Regions from separate parts of the Homo sapiens genome. Here region 1 is linked to region 2. Evidence: promoter capture Hi-C in 16 types of primary human blood cells and fetal thymus (Javierre and others, 2016). All regions are on one chromosome and are shown on one strand. Each heading gives the region's core, a stretch centred on a gene start or on the middle of the fragment in contact. The rest is flanking DNA. Distances are from core to core; before and after follow the strand shown. Region 1 overlaps ITGB4 (integrin subunit beta 4). Region 2 holds the start of MYO15B (myosin XVB).

Region 1 (5,574 bases), core at 492-2,991, 160 kb before region 2:
GCGCCCAGGTCGCCGTGAGGGGGTGGCTGTGATGACAACATCTGACTCGTGAAGCTCCGGTCCAGTTCATCTAACGGGTCAGGTTGGGGCCGGGCAACCACTCAGATCCCCCTTCACCACCAGGGGGCGCCAGAGACCCACTTCAACACCCAGGGCGCTCTACCCAGCGCATTCAACTCAGACCTGCCCACCCGCGTCTCTGGAGACCTGGTGGTGCCCCATTGCTGCCACATAGAGCATCCTGCCAAGCTTGGCGGAGGACCCAGGAGGGTCTCTGGAGGAACAGAAGCGGGAGGGAGTTGGTCTGCCCCTTTCTCCCTTGGCAGCTCAGGGAACATTCCACATGAGAACATTTGCTCCCCACCCCATCTCCACACTGTACCCTGAGTATCTCCCTCCTCTCCCATCTTCCTGGCAGGCTTTCTCCCAGTTGGGAGGCTGAGGGCTGATAGGAACTAACTGGCCCACTCCTTCCTTCCACAAGCATCTGCATGTTAGTTGGAATTGAGGCTGAAGCCAAAGGGCCAGGGTCTGATGGGAGAATTCCTATTGTGTGGTGACAACAGCCTCTCTAGCTGTAGGGTTGCCAGATAAAATGCAGGATGCCTAGTTACATTTGAATTTCAGATAAACAACAAGATTATTTTTTCTTGGGGGACAGGATCTCATTCCATGGCCCAGGTGCTGTGCAGTGGTGCGATCACAGCTTGCTGCGGCCCAGACCCCCTGGGCTCAAGTGATCCTCCCACCTCAGTCTCCGGAATAGCTGGGACTGCAGGTGCACACCACTATGCCAAGCTAATTTGTTTATTTTTTGTAGAGACGAGGTCTCACTATGTTGCCCAGGCTGGTCTAGAACTCCTGGGCTCAAGTGATCCTCCCACCTTGGCCTCCCAAAATGCTGGGATTACAGGTGTGAGCCAGTATACCCAGCCCATTTTGCAAAAAAAAGGATAAGTATGTTCCAAATATTGCATGGGACATACTTATCCTACCAACGTGTATGTTGTTTACCTGAAATTCAGATTTACCTGGGCGTCCTGTGTTTGGATTTGCTAAGTCTGACAGACCTAGTTGAGAGACCCCCCAGTCTTCCCTCTCCTCCTGCTTAAGCCGACCCCCAGGCTCTGCCTACCTGGGTCCCTGATGATGATGGTGGTGGAGTGGGGCTGGCCCAGGTGGGCCCCAAACTTAGGGTTGCTGAGCTGGACGTGGAAACGGCGGACCTGGCGGCCCCGCAGGAGGGAGTCAACTTCTTGCAGCTCCAGGAGCTTCACCTGCAGCTCTTTCCAGGCCTCCCCAGGCTGGAACAGCAGCTCACCCTCCACGGGGATGTAGTCCTGGGAGTGGAGGGGGTCAGGGTCAGGGTCATGGCTGGGGGCTGAGGCAAGAGTCATGGCCACACGCTCCCTCCCAACCTCATGGACACTGCAGAGACCATCCCTGCTTGCTGGGTGGAGTACTTACACGAGGTTCAGGTTTTTGTGTTTTTTTTGTTTGTTTTTTTTTTTGAGGCGTAATCTCACTCTGTCACCTAGGCTGGAGTGCAGTGGCATGATCTCGGCTTACTGCAACCTCCACCTTCCAGGTTCAAATGATTCTCACACCTCATCTTCCTGAGTAGCTGGGATTACAGGCACCTGCCACCACGCCTAGCTAATTTTTGTATTTTTAGTAGAGATGGGGTTTCACTATGTTGGCCAGGCTGGTCTCGAACTCCTGACTTCAAGTGATCCTCCCACCTTGGCCTCCCAAAGTGCTGGGATTACAGACATGAGCCACCATGCCCAGCCACGTTTCTGTTTGTTTGTTTGTTTTTGAGACAGGGTCTCACTCTGTCACCCAGGCTGGAGTGTAGGGGCACAATCACAGCTCACTGAAGCCTTGACCTCCTGGGCTCAGGCCATCCTTCCCCTCAGCCGCCTGAGTAGCTGGGACTACAGGCGTGCACCACACCTGGCTATTTTTTTTTTTTTTTTTTTTGTAGAGGCACGGTTACCCTATGTTGCCTAGGCTGGTCTTGAACTCCCGGCCTCAAGCGATCCGCCCACCTTGGCCTCCCAAAGTGCTGGGATTACAGGCGTGAGCCACCCATCTTCCTTTCAGTGCCGTGGAGCATGCCTGAGCTTTCCAGGATAAGAACTGGGAGGAAAAAGAAAATCCTTCACATAGAAGACCACTAGGTGGCACTTCAGGGCAAGATTTCAATTCCAGGCGCAGCAGCCAGGGCGATGGCTGGGGAGGCAACCTCATGCCACCCAACTCAGAAAGTGAGACCCATAGTTGTAAAACAAACAAACAAAAAACAAACCAGGGAGCTGCCTGCAAGCAACCTACATGGATACTTCAAAAACGTCAGTGTCATTAGCCCGGCATGGTGGCCGGTGCCTGTAATCCCAGCTACTCGGGAGGCTAAGGCAGGAGAATTGCTTGAACCCGGGAGGCAGAGGTTGCAGTGAGGCACTGTACTCCAGCCTGGGTGACAGAGCGAGACCTTGTCTTAACAAAAGTCAGTGTCACGGAAGACAAAGCCAGGAAACTTTTCTAGATTAAAGGAGTCAAGACACGTGACAAAAGTCAATGCCAAATCCTTGATTAGTTCCTGCATTGGGGGGAAAAACGCTATAAAGGACATTATTGGGACATCCGAACAAGGGGACATTGGAATATGGACCTATTTTATTTTATTTTATATATTTTTTGGGATGGAGTTTTGCTCTTTTGCCCAGACTGGAGTGAAGTGGCGCAATCTTGGCTCACTGCAACCTCCACCCACTGGGTTCAAATGATTCTCCTGCCTCAGCCTCCCTAGTAGCTGAGATTACAGGCGTGTGCCACCATGCCCGGCTAATTTTTGTATTTTTAGTAGAGATGGGGTTTCTCCATGTTGGTCAGGCTGGTGTCAAACTCCTGACTTCAGGTGATCCACCTGCCTCAGCCTCCCAAAGTGCTGGGATTACAGGTGTGAGCCACCACGCCTGGCTGGAATATGGACTAATTTTAGGTACTAGTATAATCAATGTGAAGATACAGATGTCCACATCTCTATTTATATTTCTATGTTGCTATCTATATAGAAAGAGAGAGAAAGCAAATATTAGCAATCGGTGAATCTATGTAAAGGGTAAATGGGTGCTAGTTTTACTGTTCCTTCCATTTTTCTGTAAGTTGAAGTTTTTAAAAATAAAAAGGTGAGAAATTAAAATGTTTTAAAAAACAAATATCAAAGCTTTTTTTTTTTTTTTTTTTTTGAGACAGGGGTTTCACTCTGTCACCCAGGCTGGAGTGCAGTGGCACTATCTCGGCTAACTGCAACCTCCACCTACTGGGCTCTACCTCAGCCTCCCGAGTAGCTGGGACCACAGGTGCACACCACAACACCCAGATAATTTTCTGTATTTTTGGTACAGACAGGGTTTCGCCATGTTGGCCAGGCTGGTCTTGAACTCCTGATCTCAAGCGATCTGCCCGCCCTGGCCTCCCAAAGTGCTGGGATTACAGGCATGAGCCACTGTACCCAGCCTCAAAGCATCTTTATACAAGTGTAACAGGGTAGCCAGAAGGCAAGGCAAAAGGATCATGTTATCCTAGGAGTTTGAGACCAGCCTGGGCAACATGGCGAAACCCTATCTCTACTAAAAATATAAAATGGCCGGGCGCGGTGGCTGATGCCTGTAATCCCAGCACTTTGGGAGGCTGAGGTGGGCGGATCACGAGGTCAGGAGTTCGAGACCAGCCTGACCAACATGGTGAAACCCCGTCTCTACTAAAAATACAAAATTTAGCTGGGTGTGGTGGTGCGCACCTGTAGTCCCTGTTACTTGGGAGGCTGAGGCAGGAGAATCGCTTGAACCCTGGAGGTGGAGGTTGCAGTAAGCTGAGATCGCGCCAGCCTGGGCAACAGAGTGAGACTCCGTCTCAAAGAAAAAAAAATACAAAATTAGCCGTGCGGTGGTGGACATCTGTAGTCCCAGCTACTTGGGAGGTTGAGGTTGAAGGACTGCTTGAGCCCAGGAGTTCAAGATTGCAGAGAGCTAGGACTGTGCCCCTGTACTCCACCCTGGACTAGAGGGAGACCTTGTCTCTTAAAAGAAAAAAATTATTCTTTGGAATTTTTATGGGGGGACATTGGAAAAATAATGAGAACAGTTCCTGTCAATAAAAAGAAGTAAATAAAATTAGGATGTGGCCAGGCAGCCCGGGCCTGCTGACTACGCGCTCCCCTATGTTTGCTGAATGGGCCTGTGGGCCCAGGGAGGCGAGACTTTATTACTTTTGAGATAATTTTTTTTTTCTTTTTTCGAGACAGAGTCTCACTCTGTCGCTCAAGCTGTAGTGCAGTGGCATGATCTCGGTTCACTGCAGCCTCCACCTCCTGGTTTCCAGCAATTCTCCTGCCTCGGCCTCCCGGGTAGCTGGGATTAGAGGCACGTGTCACCATGCCCAGCTAATTTTTGTATTTTTAGTAGAGACAGGGTTTCACCATGTTGGCCAGGCTGGTCTCGAACTCGTGACCTCAGGCGATCCACCTGCCTTGGCCTCCCACAGTGCTAGGATTACAGGCATACGCCACCTCGCCTGGCCTTTATTATTATTATTATTTTTTTAAAATAGAGACAGGGTCTTACTATGTTGCCCAAGCTGGCCTGCAACTCCTGGGCTCAAGTGATCCTCCCACTGTGCCCTCCCACAGTGTTGGGATTACATGCATGAGCTACTGCACTGAGCCAGGTTTTGTTTCTTTGTTTTTTTGTTTGATTTTTAAAAAATTAATTATTATTATTTTTTTAGACAGGGTCTTACTCTGTTGCCTAGGCTGAAGTACAGTGGCATGAACATGGCTCACTGTAGCCTCAACCTCCTGGCCTCAAGTGATCTTCCTGCCTCAGCCTTCCAAGTAGCTGGGTCCACAAGTATGCACTACCATGCCCAGCTAATGTTTAAATTATATGTATAGACATGGTCTCACCACGTTGCCTAGGCTGGTCTTGAACTCCTGGGTTTAAGTGATTCTCCCACCTTAGCCTCCCAAAGTGCTGGGATTACAGGTGTGAGCCACCATGCCCCGCCTTTGTTTTTAATTATGGATTTGTTGCCAACATTTAAAAACTAGAAAGGCCAGGTGCACTGGCTTACACCTGTAATCCCTGCACTTTGGGAAGCCGAGGTGGGCGGATCACTTGAGATCAGGAGTTTAAGACCAGCCTGGCCAACATGGCAAAACCCCATCTCTTCTAAAAATACAAAAACTAGGCCGGGCGTGGTAGCTCACTCCTGTAATCCCAGCACTTTGGGAGGCCGAGGTGGGTGGATCACTTGAGGTCAGGAGTTCAAGACCAGCTTGGGCAACATAGCAAGACCCTGTCTCCCCCAAAAATTAAGAAGCAAAAAATCCCCACACAAAACAAAAGAAACAAAACTATGAAGCCTGTAAACCCAGTCCAGCCTGTGTGCCACCTGATTTGGCTGTACCCCAGCACTGGGGCTCAGCAGTGAAGGTGATGCTGGTCCAGCCATGGCACTCCCTGCCTTGAAGGGTTGCTCCTGCTGCTTGGCAAATTGTGACAGCCCTTG
Region 2 (2,500 bases), core at 1-2,500:
GGGTCCTCCGGCCCCGCTCCTGCTGCGGCTCCCGCTTCGCCCTCGCCTGCCGCCGCTGGCACCTGCCCCACCGCCTTTCCGACCTGGTGGCGCGGAGCCCGGGCCGTCGAGGCCTGCATTGTTTCTGGCTCGGCGCCCCGCTGCGCCCGGTTGTCGCTCGCGTCCTTGGCCGGCCCAGTGTCCCGAGGAGCCCGCGAGCTGTCCTCGAAGGTCCTGGAGGCCATAGCTGCCCGAGAGCCCCGTCCAGGTCCGGTCCCCAGCGGACTCGAGTCGGAGTCCCCGCCGGAATGCTCGCTGGCTCCCAGGGGCCCCGTCCCCGACGACCCTTCCCGGCCCCGGGTATCTGCGTGGGGCCAGTCGCTGTCCAGGCCGTCGCTGCTTGGCTCCAGCGCTGACTCCGGCCCGGTTTTTGTCCCTTCCGAGCCCATGTCCGTAGGCTCCGGCGTGGGCCGCAGCTCCCGGGCTGTGCCGCGCTGGCTGCCGCTCTCCTGGGCCTCGCGGGTTTCGCTGTCCGGACAGGAGCTGCCTCCGTCCCCACCCGACGTGTCCCCATTGAGGCTCCTGGGCGTCCGGCGGCCCCGCCGAGCCGAGGGCCCCTTATCTTTCCGCTTCCTCCTACGGCGGCCGCCCAGCTCTTCTCCTCCGGAGAGGCTTCCCTCCTCCAGGCGCCCCCCGCGGCCGCCCCTGGGCCCGCGTCCCTGACGCTGCGCGTTGCTTTGCCTCTCCTGGGCTTTCGGGGACAGCCCAGCCCCTGGGCGTCTGCAGCCGCCGTTCCCCTCTGCAGTGGGCTTCCTGCGGCCACCAGGGGTTCCCTGGCCCCCGGCGGTGGCAGGCTCGGCCGCCGGTTTCGCCCTGTCCGCCTGCCCGCGGTCGGAACGGCGTTCCCGGCTGGGCGCGCCATCCGCGCTGGCCGACCCCGACTCCTGCTCCCCTGAGGCCGGCCTCCCGGGCCTCTCCAGGCGCTGGGGCGCTTTGCGCTGGTTCCTGCCCATGGCTGGCCCAAAGGAGACGGGCTTCCCGACGCCCAGGTCCTTTCCCCTCCCCGGGGATTTGGCCTCCCGCGGTGACCTTCTGTGCAGTGCACCACCCGGCTCTGCTCTCGCAGGGGCTACAGGCTCTACTCCCCGAGGTGCCCGCCTTACAGGACCATCAATAATGCAGAAGGCGGCGGGTCCTGACCCCCTCGGCCAACAATGGAATAGAGGCGCCCAGGAAACAGGAGACGCTACAGCTGCGGACAGGGCAACAGTGCCGCCGGGAGGCGCTGCCAGCCAGGCCAGCCTCGCACCGCGCCAGACTGAGGGGGTCCATGCTCCACTCCCACCTCAGTGCTTGCCCAGCAAGGAAGGGCCCAGAGAACCTGTCTGGACTTCTTCCTTCTGAGGGTTCCAAGGGACTGGGGCCAGGCCCACCCTGGCACACGGCAGCACTCCATGAGTCGCTAGGGTTTTTGTTCTTTTCAATTGTGGAATAAATACAATTTACCGAAAAGTACATAAAACATAAATGTACATCTTGAACTGGTGTAAAACATGCCTGTCTACCTCCTTGGAGTTGTGGAACAGAACCACACCCCATACATTCCTGATTGCCCCAATGTGTGTGTTTTTAAAATATCTATTTTTAAAACAGGTAATACATTCACATAATTCAAACATCCAAACATTACAAGATAAAAGTCTCCCATTCCTGACCCTCAGCCTATGTACTCAGTGTTCCCCTGAGGTTACCCATTTCTGTATTTCCTTGCAAAATTTTCCAGGTTGGCCGGGCGCGGTGGCTCACGCCTGTAATCCCAGCACTCTGGGAGGCCAAGGAGGGCGGATCACGAGGTCAGGAGATGGAGACCATCCTGGCTAACATGGTGAAACCCCCGTCTCTACTAAAAAATACGATAAATTAGCCGGTCGTGGTGGGGGGCGCCTGTAGTCCCAGCTACTCGGGAGGCTGAGGCAAGAGAATGGCATGAACCCAGGAGGCAGGAGAGAATGGCATGAACCCAGGAGGCAGAGCTTGCAGTGAGCTGAGATCACACCACTGCACTCCAGCCTGGGTGACAGCATTTTGTTTGTCTCAAAAACAAAGAAACAACAACAAAAACTTTCCATGCAGAGAAAAGCAAATATTATATTTTTCCCCTTTAGCACAAGTGGTAGCTTATGTAGCTCCGGGGTCTCCACTTTGCCTTTTTCACTTAACAATGTAATCTGGTGATTTCATAATAATACCATAAAAAGCCAGCCTGCCTTCCTCCCTTCTCTCCTCCCTCTCTTCCTTGCAAATAAATGCACCATGGTTGAACCAATTCCTTATTGATGGGTTTCTACATCCAAAGTGGATCCTGGCCAAGTGAGGTGGCTCATGCCTGTAATCCCAGCATTTTGGGAGGCCGAAGTGGGTGGATCACCTGATGTCAGGAGTTCGAGATCTGCCTGGCCAACATGGTGAAACCCCATCTCTACTAAAAATACAAAAATTACCTAGGTGTGGTGGCACATGC

Evidence for each region. Contacts are between HindIII fragments. The CHiCAGO score rates a contact against its expected background, and 5 or more counts as called.
Region 1: a fragment that was not itself captured here is called in contact with the fragment with the promoter of MYO15B in region 2 in 11 of 17 cell types (endothelial precursors, erythroblasts, megakaryocytes and 8 more); the score reaches 12.8 in endothelial precursors.

What each region holds. Positions count from the first base shown.
Region 1 is chr17:75,744,607-75,750,180 of GRCh38, reverse strand. ITGB4 (integrin subunit beta 4) reads right to left here. Exons shown (of 40, transcript NM_000213.5): 27 at 1,136-1,340; 28 at 1-70. Among named protein-coding and RNA genes, the nearest start is that of GALK1, 18 kb to the left of the region's middle. The HindIII fragment of the contact is 2,980 bases long and covers 252-3,231 here.
Region 2 is chr17:75,586,550-75,589,049 of GRCh38, reverse strand. It overlaps MYO15B (myosin XVB), which reads right to left and starts at 1,250. Exons shown (of 64, transcript NM_001395058.1): 1 at 1-1,250. The coding sequence starts at 992. RefSeq lists a silencer at 19-148 and enhancers at 1-600, 1,029-1,098, 601-1,434. The HindIII fragment of the contact is 9,041 bases long and covers 1-2,500 here.